Linked DNA regions of Homo sapiens: regions 2 and 3 are each linked to region 1. The links are contacts of gene promoters, found by promoter capture Hi-C in blood cells and fetal thymus (Javierre and others, 2016). All regions are on one chromosome and are shown on one strand. Each heading gives the region's core, a stretch centred on a gene start or on the middle of the fragment in contact. The rest is flanking DNA. Distances are from core to core; before and after follow the strand shown. Region 1 holds the start of CAPRIN2 (caprin family member 2). Region 2 overlaps ALG10 (ALG10 alpha-1,2-glucosyltransferase). Region 3 overlaps MRPS35-DT (MRPS35 divergent transcript).

The links. The method cuts DNA at HindIII sites, captures the fragments that hold promoters and counts their contacts. A CHiCAGO score of 5 or more calls a contact.
Region 2: a contact is called between a fragment that was not itself captured here and the fragment with the promoter of CAPRIN2 in region 1, in 4 of 17 cell types (total B cells, non-activated CD4 T cells, activated CD4 T cells and 1 more). The highest score is 7.5, in total B cells.
Region 3: a fragment that was not itself captured here is called in contact with the fragment with the promoter of CAPRIN2 in region 1 in 1 of 17 cell types (total B cells); the score reaches 5.2 in total B cells.

Annotation. Positions count from the first base shown.
Region 1 is chr12:30,753,237-30,756,621 of GRCh38, reverse strand. CAPRIN2 (caprin family member 2) reads left to right here and starts at 1,671. Exons shown (of 19, transcript NM_001385503.1): 1 at 1,671-1,871; 2 at 3,063-3,278. The coding sequence starts at 3,102. LOC645485 (a long non-coding RNA gene) reads right to left here and starts at 1,548. Exons shown (of 2, transcript NR_135046.1): 1 at 1,351-1,548. RefSeq lists silencers at 143-346, 1,438-2,117 and enhancers at 2,045-2,214, 2,218-2,297. The HindIII fragment of the contact is 2,894 bases long and covers 1-2,654 here.
Region 2 is chr12:34,026,679-34,030,063 of GRCh38, reverse strand. ALG10 (ALG10 alpha-1,2-glucosyltransferase) reads right to left here. Exons shown (of 3, transcript NM_032834.4): 3 at 1,762-3,385. The coding sequence ends at 3,149. Among named protein-coding and RNA genes, the nearest start is that of ALG10, 5.9 kb to the right of the region's middle. The HindIII fragment of the contact is 2,454 bases long and covers 421-2,874 here.
Region 3 is chr12:27,700,749-27,704,133 of GRCh38, reverse strand. MRPS35-DT (MRPS35 divergent transcript) reads left to right here. Exons shown (of 5, transcript XR_001749448.2): 3 at 514-673. It also overlaps the pseudogene HMGB1P49. Among named protein-coding and RNA genes, the nearest start is that of REP15, 6.0 kb to the right of the region's middle. The HindIII fragment of the contact is 3,947 bases long and covers 1-3,385 here.

The sequences.
Region 1 (3,385 bases), core at 422-2,921:
TACGGCCTCCTTTTTGCCTGACCGATTAGAAGGCAAACATTTCTTTCTTTCTTTCTTTTTTTGAGATAGAGTCTTGCTCTGTCACCCAGGCTGGAGTGCAGCGGCACAATCTCGGCTCACTGCAGCGTCCGTCTCCGGGTTTCAAGCGATTCTCCTGCCTTAGCCTCTGAGTAGCCATGATTACAGGCACATGCCGCCATGCTCGGCTAATTTTTGTATTTTTAGTAGAGATGGATATTCACCACGCTGGCCAGCCTGGCCTCGAACTCCCGACCTCAGGTGATCCACCCCGCCTCGGCCTCCCAAAGTGCTGGGATCACAGGCTTGAGCCACTGCGCCGGCAGGGGGCAAACATTTCATGATTAATCTGACTGAAATACCATTTTTAGGTTCATCATTAGCTCGGACTACAACTCAGGCTGTGCTGTAACTTTGTGTCAACTCATTGATCCAACAGTGTGTCCTTCACATTTTTTCTTATGGCCACTGTTTTTTGTGTTACCAAAGGTGAAGGCATAGCCTTCCTCTCCTCATGTTCAGCATCTTCTGCGTTTCTCTGTTTATAAACAATGAGAAAAAGGGAAAATCTAGTATTTCTCTGACCCTGAAGAACACATATGGGATTCAGAGATTCAAAGTTAAAATGCAACATTAGGGTACATTATGTCACCAGGGACCGAAAAGAACACGGATAATAGATGCCAAAAAAATGTATTAAGTAATGTTAAAATTAATTTGTGTGAAGTTGACCAAGGCTTTTAAAACTAGACCTTTGTTTCCTTGATTCTTCTTCTGAATTTTCTGTTCTTTTGCTAGTCTCAATATTTTTTATCAGAGCGTCAGGGACAATCAGGACCTAAAAAACTCCACTTGGTGTAATAAGTAAACACATGTTGGGGCAAAGTATTGCTGAGTGTGTGTGTGTGTTTCTTATTTGGTATCAGAAACACCTTCCTTTCCTCAATAAACTTTTACATATTTCCAGACTTTTCTCTTAATTTTATGTAACCTTACAAAGATTTTTTACAGCTTTCTCTGCGTGCCAGTCAATTAATGTGTGTCACATGAACAAATAATACGGCTTGAATAAACTCAATCCTATTATTGCAGGTTGCGAAGTCACCTACTCCGTTTTTATGGCGATGCTGATTTGGGGCATTCTGCTCTTACAGGCTGATTCCCCGGTAAGGAAACGGTGTTTTTTCCCCATCCTACTATGAAAGATGCTATCTGAGGGGCAAAGGCGCATCTGCATTTCACGACTACCCACTAGGCTACGACAGCCTCAAGCATGGCTTATCTGGTAGTTCCGCGAAGGGCTCGCTGCCCTCCTGGAGCTATTGGAGTCACCTGTTCAAGGTCGCGAAACCACCGGTGCCGCCGGCAATCAGCGAGGTCCAGCGGGGCTGCGCGGTTTCCGGCCTGCCGGCGTTCGGCGTCGCCTCGGCCCCACCTGGTGCCCCGCAATCTGCGCAAAGGCTGGGAGACCGCGCCCTCTCCCGACCTACCACCAGCCCAAGCTGGGCCCGGAACTAACACCCGACAAGCGCTGGCGGCCAGCTGCAGCCGGGAAGGAGCACCGGAAGGAGGCGGTGGCGGGGCGGCCGAGGGCGGAGCGGGCCGGGGCGGGGCGCGGCCTACAAAAGCCACGCGCGGCGCGGTGGGCGGGCCTGGGCGCGAGCGGCTGAGTCGGCTGGGTCTCTGGCGCCGCAGAGGCCGCGGGCGAGGACCGGGAGGGGAGAGGGAGGAGACAGGAGGAGGAGACGCGAGTGCGGGGTGGCGCCGGTCCACCTCCGCAGCGCTCCTGCCTCCCCCAGGCTTTGGAAGGCGGGCCCGGGCTGCGGCAGCGGCGGCCTCGGCTGCCTGGGGAGGTGAAGTCGGGCTGCGGCGGCCTCGGTCGGCGCGGCGGAGGGAGGCGGCTGACCCGGCGAGGGTGGGCAGGTCTGGGCGGCCGGCGCCGCTGCGAGGTGGAGGGGCGGCTTGGCATCCCCGGGGCGGGGCGGGGCTCCCGAGGGCCGCGGTCGGTGCGTTTTCCGCAGGTCAGCCTCCCCCGGGGCCTTGCAGAAGCGGCTTCTGCGTACCCGGGGCGGCTGTGGGAAGGGTGGGGGTCGGTGCCTGCAGGGCTCTCCGTGGCCGCTCGGGAGAGGTGCTCTTCGCTCAGGCTCCCCCGGAGACTTGAGGGGGTGCGCGCTGGCGTGCATGGGGCCTGTTCTGTCCTTGGTTTGGGGATGCTCCTAAGGGGGGAGAAAGGGATACCTCGGGTGCTTGGAGGTCGAGAGACGGATACGTAAGTGCGCAAGGGCCACTGATTAGGGCACGGGAAGGGCTCGCTAGAATGAGCTCTTAAACTGGTTGGGTGTAAGCGGTTTTGGGCTAGTCTAAACCAAACAACTGAGAATAAACGCGGGGTTCCTGCAGGTTGAGAGAGTACCTGTCTGCAAATGTCCAGTAGTGATGGATTGCCTTGTAGGCCCCAGAGCAATCGGGGAAGTTAGCATTCTTGTTCAAGAAGCTGCTGGTTCACTTAGAGCTATAAAAGAATGTTGTGAGTTTGGATTTTCTTCCAAACGTTCAGGATTGAGGTTAGGGCTGGTGGTGAGGGATCATGTAAAGAGGTTTGAGTGGCTCAGCCTTAGGTCCCGGTGTGGAAAGCTTATTCTTTTGGTGTCATCACGTGGCCATGGGAATTATTTAGAATGTGATCTGCCCTCATGAGAAGAAAGGAGCTCTGAAGCCGTTGCAGTTCTTCCTCCCTATGTGGAAAATCGAATTTCTGGAAACATCCTCCGTATTGGGAGATTTTGCCTATGTAAAGGCTATCCTTATTGGCTAGCGGCACTAATTACTTTAAAAGTAGGATGGAAGTACAAGTATCTCAAGCATCATTGGGTTTCGAGCTCACTTCTGTGGAAAAGAGTTTAAGGGAGTGGTCTAGACTTTCCAGGGAAGTTATTGCCTGGCTGTGTCCCTCTAGTCCTAATTTTATACTTAACTTTCCCCCACCTCCTTCAGCCTCATCTGTTTCAATGGTGCAACTCTTTTCATCCCCTTTTGGTTACCAGTCACCTTCAGGCCATTCAGAGGAGGAAAGAGAGGGGAATATGAAGTCAGCCAAGCCCCAAGTGAACCACAGTCAGCATGGGGAAAGCCAGCGGGCCTTGAGCCCCCTGCAGTCTACTCTGAGTTCTGCTGCATCTCCTTCCCAAGCGTATGAGACCTATATTGAAAATGGACTCATATGCCTTAAACACAAAATTAGAAACATCGAGAAAAAGAAGGTAACTTTTTTTCTTCCAGTCCTGTAGATGCATGATCTTAAAGATTAAGGAGCTGACATTTTTCTTTCAGAGCTCATAGGTGTTCTCTACTAAAAATTTAACTAACC
Region 2 (3,385 bases), core at 398-2,897, 3.3 Mb before region 1:
AAATGAACTAGAAGAGCTGGGCACAGTGGCTCACGCCTGTAATCCCAGCACTTTGGGAGGCCGAGACGGGTGTACTACCTGAGGTCAGGAGTTCGAGACCAGCCTAGCCAACATGGTGAAATCCCGTCTCTACTAAAAATAGGAAAAATTAGCCGGGCGTGGTGGCAGGTGCCTATAATCCCAGCTACTCGGGAGGCTGAGGCAGGAGAATTGCTTGAACCCGGGAGGTGGAGGTTTCAGTGAGCCGAGATCAAGCCATTGCACTCCAGCCTGGGGGACAAGAGTGAGACTTCTCCTCAAAAAAAAAAAAAAAAAAAAAAAAAAAAATCTAGAACAGTGATCCCTCCAAAGAGCAGTCTTCTTTAATTACAGGGTAGAATATTTTCCTCAATTTTGCCAGACTAGATCAGAGTGGAAGCTTCTCCTCTCAGAAGTATTCCTAAATACAAAATCCTTGCATTAATATTATCAGACAAAAAGTTATTTTCCCTAAATTATACATTCTTTTTTCAATTTTGACTTCTCGGATTTAGTTCTCTATTATAGTAAATTAATGACAAAAGTATAATTTCTCTGAGTGTCCTCTCTCGTCTAATTTTTAAAAAGTCTGGGTAAAACACGTTTTTCTACAATCACTGTTATAACTAATGCAACTCTATTTTCTGAGTACTAGAGTACAACCAAAAAACGGTCTGTATTTATCATTCAAATTATACTTGTGATTTTCACCTACACACAATTTTATATTTGTAAATGTAGAATCATTACTTAAAACTCAGAGAAACAAAATTTGACATTGAGGGGAAAGTAATTTGTTCACTTATAGCTACTTTTAAAGTTTGGAAACATAAAATTATGTTAAAAGAAGTGTTCTATTCATAATTCTAAGTTTACATGTCAAATTTAACATGCCCAAATAATACTTTCCTATAATGGAATGACAACCCAAAAAATACACTCAAAATAATAAACACAAAATTCAAAAAGTAACACAAAATAATCCTACCCCAGCAGTTGTTCCCTAATCTACAAAATAAGGTCAGACCAAATGATTTCTTAACTTTCAATTCTGACATTTTTTTAAATAGATAATGGAATCAAACACTAGTCACCTTTAGCTTTATATTACCTCAGAAGTCACTTACTTTTTAACCTCTCAGTAAAGATACTGAGAGTTATTTAAAAGGTATCGGCTAAGATATTATCTCCTGATCCAACAATCCCACTTCTGGGCATTTATCCAGAAGACTTGAAATCCGTATGTCAAAGAGAAGTCTGCACTCCACGTTCACTGCAGACAAGTCACAATTATCAAGTTATTCAATCAACCTAAATGTCCATCAATGGATGCATGGATAAAGAAAATGTGGCATATATACACAATAAAATACTATTTGGCCTTTAAAAAGGTAGAAATTGTGTCATTTGCAACAATATGGATGAACCTGGAGGACATTATGGTAAGTGAAATAAGCCAAGCACAGAAAGACAAATACCACATGATCTCACTTATTTGTGTAATCTAAAACAATTAAACTCACAGAAGTAGAGAGAAGAATGATGGTTGCTAGAGGCCGGGGATGTGGGAATGGGGAGATGATAATCAAAAGATACAAAGCCTCAATTAGATAGAAGGAGCATGTTTGACTTTTTTTAGATCTATTACACAACATGGTGAATACAGCTAATAATTAAGCACTGTACATTTCAATACTGCTGAGAGTAAATTTCAAATGTTTTCATCACAAAATATGTCAAATATTTGAGGTGATGGATAGATTAGCTTTATTTAATCCCACATTATATTCAAAAATCATAATGCCACTTTGTTTCTCATAAGTATATACAACTATAATTTGATATATAATAAAAAAAATCTAAAAAGGTAGTCTCCTAACAATCATATGAAGACTATCCTAAAATGTCCTTTAGTAACTGTCATGGACTGAAAAGTATCCCACGAAGAGACAATGTCTACTCAGATCATGTGAATACAAACTTACTTGGAACATGGGTCTTTGTAAACATAATTAAGGGTCTCCAGACACAATCACCCTAGATCAGGGTGGGCCCTACATTCAAAGACACTGTCCTTAAAAGGTAATGAAGAGAAGACAGAGGGAAAGGCCGTGTGAACACAGAGGCAGAGACTGGAGTGAAGATTGCTGTCTGCAATACTTGGACAAGATTTGTCCAGAAGCCAAAGAACTCCAAGAATTGCACACAGCCACAAGATATTAGGAAACAGACATAGAATGTCTGTTTATGGATTCTTCCTTAGAGCCTCCAGAAGGAACCAACTCTGCTGACACTTTGATTTTAGACTTCTGGCCTCCAGACTGTGAGGAAAATTGTTGTAAGCACCCAAGTTTGTCGTCATTTGTTATGGAAGCCCTGGGAAGCTAATACAATATGTATTTCAGAAAGGAAATCCCCCTTTTAAAGGATTATAATCAATACAATTTGTCTTTGGCCATCATACATTTCATATTAGGAATTAGTGAAAGAGCTTCATCATTTCTAGATTGTAAACAATAACCAACAATTTGATGTCTAGACAGGCATATATGAGTCTCTACTTTATCATTTACTATCTATGCATTTGTATTTTGACTTAGAATTAAAATTATATTACTGAAATGTTAAGCAACTTTTCAATCAAGAATATCACCTGACCATTTGTAAATATTTGCTAATACATTGTTATTAGGTTGGTAAAAAAGTAATTGTGGTTTTGCCATTACTTTCAATGGCAAAAACCACAATTACTTTTGCACTAACCTAATATTTCTCTCTGAAGAGAATAAATTCATTCCAGTAATATGAAGCATACCCAGTTTTAATAAACTTGTACATACAAAACATTCCCAAGCTTTTTAAGGGGCCAACATTATGAGAGTGATATGAGATATCTGAAAACAATTTTATTTTTCCATTTTTCAGGCTTTTGAAGCAGGTCTTAAGCTTTCTCAGTTCTTTGCCACTTAATTTCTTACATATGTTTAAAATATATATAAAAAAAACTAATGTAATTTGAAGACCACCACTGCACCTAAAAGAAATTCCATGTTTTCCACCTATTCAGTTGTTCTTTGTAGAAATGGTCTAATTATTAAGTCCATTTTCACAGTTCGAAATATCACTGATATTACCACATAAACCTTTGAATGTCCTGACTATTTGGCCACTGAAAAGTCTTGTTCAGAAAGATGAAAAAAGTTATGAAATTAACAACTGCATAGCAGCTCAGTTCACAAATGAGTCTGGATGTGGGAGGCAGAGGTATGTTAAGCCTATAAATGACATAAGGTAAAATGAAGTAACGAAATTCCAGCAGTTTCTGAGGAACTATAACAGTGAACAAGCATATGAAAAACATTAAATT
Region 3 (3,385 bases), core at 236-2,735, 3.1 Mb after region 1:
AGTTGGCTGTACTGTCTAGGTCTGTGTAAGTACACTTTCTTATGTTCACAAAACAATGAAATTGCCTAACAATGCATTTCTCAGAACATATCCCCATTAAGCAATGCATGATTGTAGTTGAAGTCATTCCCATTTTACAAATAAGGAAGCAAAAAGTTAAGCCACTTGACTCTGCTCTTATGAGCATTGAAACTCAAATCCGCATCTGATTCCAAGTTGCATGTTCTTTACATCACCTCCTTCTTGAGAGTGTACTCCACACAGCATTCCTGCAGACAGGGGTCGCTATACACCGAGGAAACATTAATTGACTGAGGACTATAACCTCCCAGAAGCATTGAACATGGGAACCGTTATTACTTAACACTTTAAAAGATGCCACCTGGGCTTATTCATGCCCAGTTTACTGAAGGCAAAGGGCTAAAATGCTTTTTTAATTTAAAAAATTGTATTTGCTTAGAAGTATTCAGAATGTCAACAAAACAGCTGCAACTTCTTTTTTTTCAATTACAGAGTGGTACTCAGCAGAACAACAACTATATCGTATAAGCTGCATCAGAGACAAATGAAGATGAAAAAACTATCCTCCTATATAACTAATCTGTGCTGTGCCCCAACAAAGCCTGCTTTAAATTTCCGTGCCAATTACAACCCCCATTCTGTATCAGGCAAGGTTAGTGTCTATTAAAAATATCACCAGGACAGGGCTATCTTAAGAGACATTTTGTAATCTGTTAATTGTACAAAAAGACACTGTAATGTTTTTTGTTTGTTTCTGTTTTTGTTTTGTTTTGTTGTTGTTGTTGTTTTGAGATGGAGTCTCGCTCTGCCGCCCAGGCTGGAGTGCGGTGGCGCAATCTTGGCTCACTGCAAGCTCTGCCTCCCGGGTTCATGCCATTCTCCTGCCTCAGCCTCCCAAGTAGCTGGGACTACAGGCACCCGCCACCATGCCTGGCTAATTTTTTTGTATTTTTAGTAGAGACGGGGTTTCACCGTGTTAGCCAGGATGGTCTCGATCTCTTGACCTCATGATCCACCCACCTTGGCCTCCCAAAGTCCTGGGATTACAGGTGTGAGCCACCGCGCCCAGCTGACACTGTAATGCTTAAAAACAAATCTTACACAGCCTTACATTTCAATTTTTTTTTCTTTAAAAGGAGTGAGTTGTATACAGGGGTTGTTAAATTCTTTATAGACAAGAGAAAGACTGCTACAACCAACTCGTTTATCATCATCTTCTTCTTCTCCTTCCTCCTCATCCTCCTCTTCTTTTTTTCTTTTTTTTTCAGCCTTGGCAATTCCCTTTGTTGCTGCATGAGGCTTTCCTTTAGCTCAGTCTGCTACAATATCCTTTTCATATTTGTCCTTCAGCTTCGCAGCCTTCTTTTCATAAGGCTGCTTGTCATCTGCAACAGTGTCATTCCACCTCTCTCCCAGTTTCTTTGCAAAATCACCAATGTATAGGCCGGGATATTTTCCTTTGACTCAGGGGCAATACTCAGAACACAAGAAAAAAGCCAAAGGAGGCCTCTTGGGCTTTTTTTTTTTTTTTGCCTCTCTTTCTGGAGGGATATAGGTTTTCATTTCTCTTTCATAATGGGTCTTTTGCCTGAGTTTGCCAAGTCTTCAAATTTTCCTTTATAGCAGACCCGGTCCTTTACCTCTCTGGCACTTTTTGGAACAATCTGAGAAGAGGACAGAAGCATCTGGGTGCTGTTTCTTGTGCTCCTTCTGACAAGTATGCATAAAGAATGCGTATAATGACATTTTTGCCTCTTGGGATCTCCTTTGCCCATGTTGAGTTACTTTTTCCTCAGTGAGGCACCCAGTCATGCAGTGCCCACCTGGCAATCACATACCCTGGCACTGTTTCTCTAAAATGCTTTTCTCCATCTTCTGATTTCTTTGGATAAAGGAAAGTCAAAGACAAATTTATTTCTGTCCTTGCATATATTCTTATTATTCAAGACATTTGGAAATACAGCATCTAATTGTTACATGTTTCAAACCCCACATCCAATCATCAGCAAATGCTGTACACTTTACTTTCAACTACATTCTAAATCTGACCTCTTCATACCTCCTCTTGTACGAGTGTGGTCCAGGCCACCTTTTTCTCTCATCTGGGTGACTACAGCTTCCTAGCTGCTTACCTGGGTTCTGCTTCTCTTCTTTTTCTTCTACCATCAAGTCTCCCCCCAGTAATCAAGTGAGGGTTTGTTTGTTTATTTGAGACAGAGTCTTGCTCTGTCACCCAGGCTGGAGTGCAGAGGCACGATCTCGGCTCACTGCAACCTCCGCCTCCTGGGTTCAAGCGATTCTCCTGCCTCAGTCTCCTGAGTAGCTGAAATTACAAGCATGTGCCATCATGCCAGGCTAATTTTTATGTTTTTAGTAGAGACGGGGTTTCACCATGTTGGCCAGGCTGGTCTTGAATTCCTGGCCTCAAGTGATTCACCCACCTTGGCCTCCCAAAGTGCTGGGATTACAGGTGTGAGCCACCATGCCTGGCTTCAAGTGAGGCTTTTAACGTACAGGTCAGTCAAGACATTTCTCTCCCCCATCACTCAGAATAGTTGAGTCCTTACTTCAGCTTACAAGTTTGACCAGCTTGATGAGTTTGCTGGCTACTTCTGCAAACTCATCTCCCACCTCTCGCCTCCAGCTCACTCTGCTCCGTCCACGTCAGCCTCCTTTGCTATCCACATTCACATCTACTCCCATTCCAGGTCCTTTGCATTTGCAGTTCTTTGTGCCTAGAACACCCTTTCCCAAATGTCTGCACTGATGCTCAGTGTCTTCCTTCAGATTTCTAGCTAATTGCCCCCTCCTCGCTGAGGCCTTCCTTCACCACCCAATATAAAATAGCACCTCCTAACATTCTTTATTCCCTGATCATGCTTTTTCTTTACATTACTCATGATGTAATTTAAAATTGATTATTGTTTGAGACAGGGTCTCACTGTTGCCCAGGCTGGAGTGCAGTGGCTGGTTCTGGGCTCACTGTAACCTCCTCCTCCTGGGCTCAAGCGATCTTCCCACCTCAGCCTCCCAAGTAGCTGGGACTACAGGCACACACCACCACACCAGGCTAATTTTTGTATTTTTAGTAGAGACAGGGTTTCATCATGTTGTCCAGGCTGGTTCCAAATTCCTGAACTCAAGTGATCCGCCGGCCTCAGCCTCCCAAAGTGCTGGGATTACTACAGGCGTGAGATGTTTTGAAAATATGCATTTAAACATCTGCACGTGTTTGTCTGTCTTCCACCATTAAGATATAAACTCCCTGAGACTAGGAACTTTGTTCTTTGTACTGCTAGATTGGCAGGGCACAGAACAAGCCCGACATGTAATAGGCACTCAGCAATTATGTTTGAATGAATCT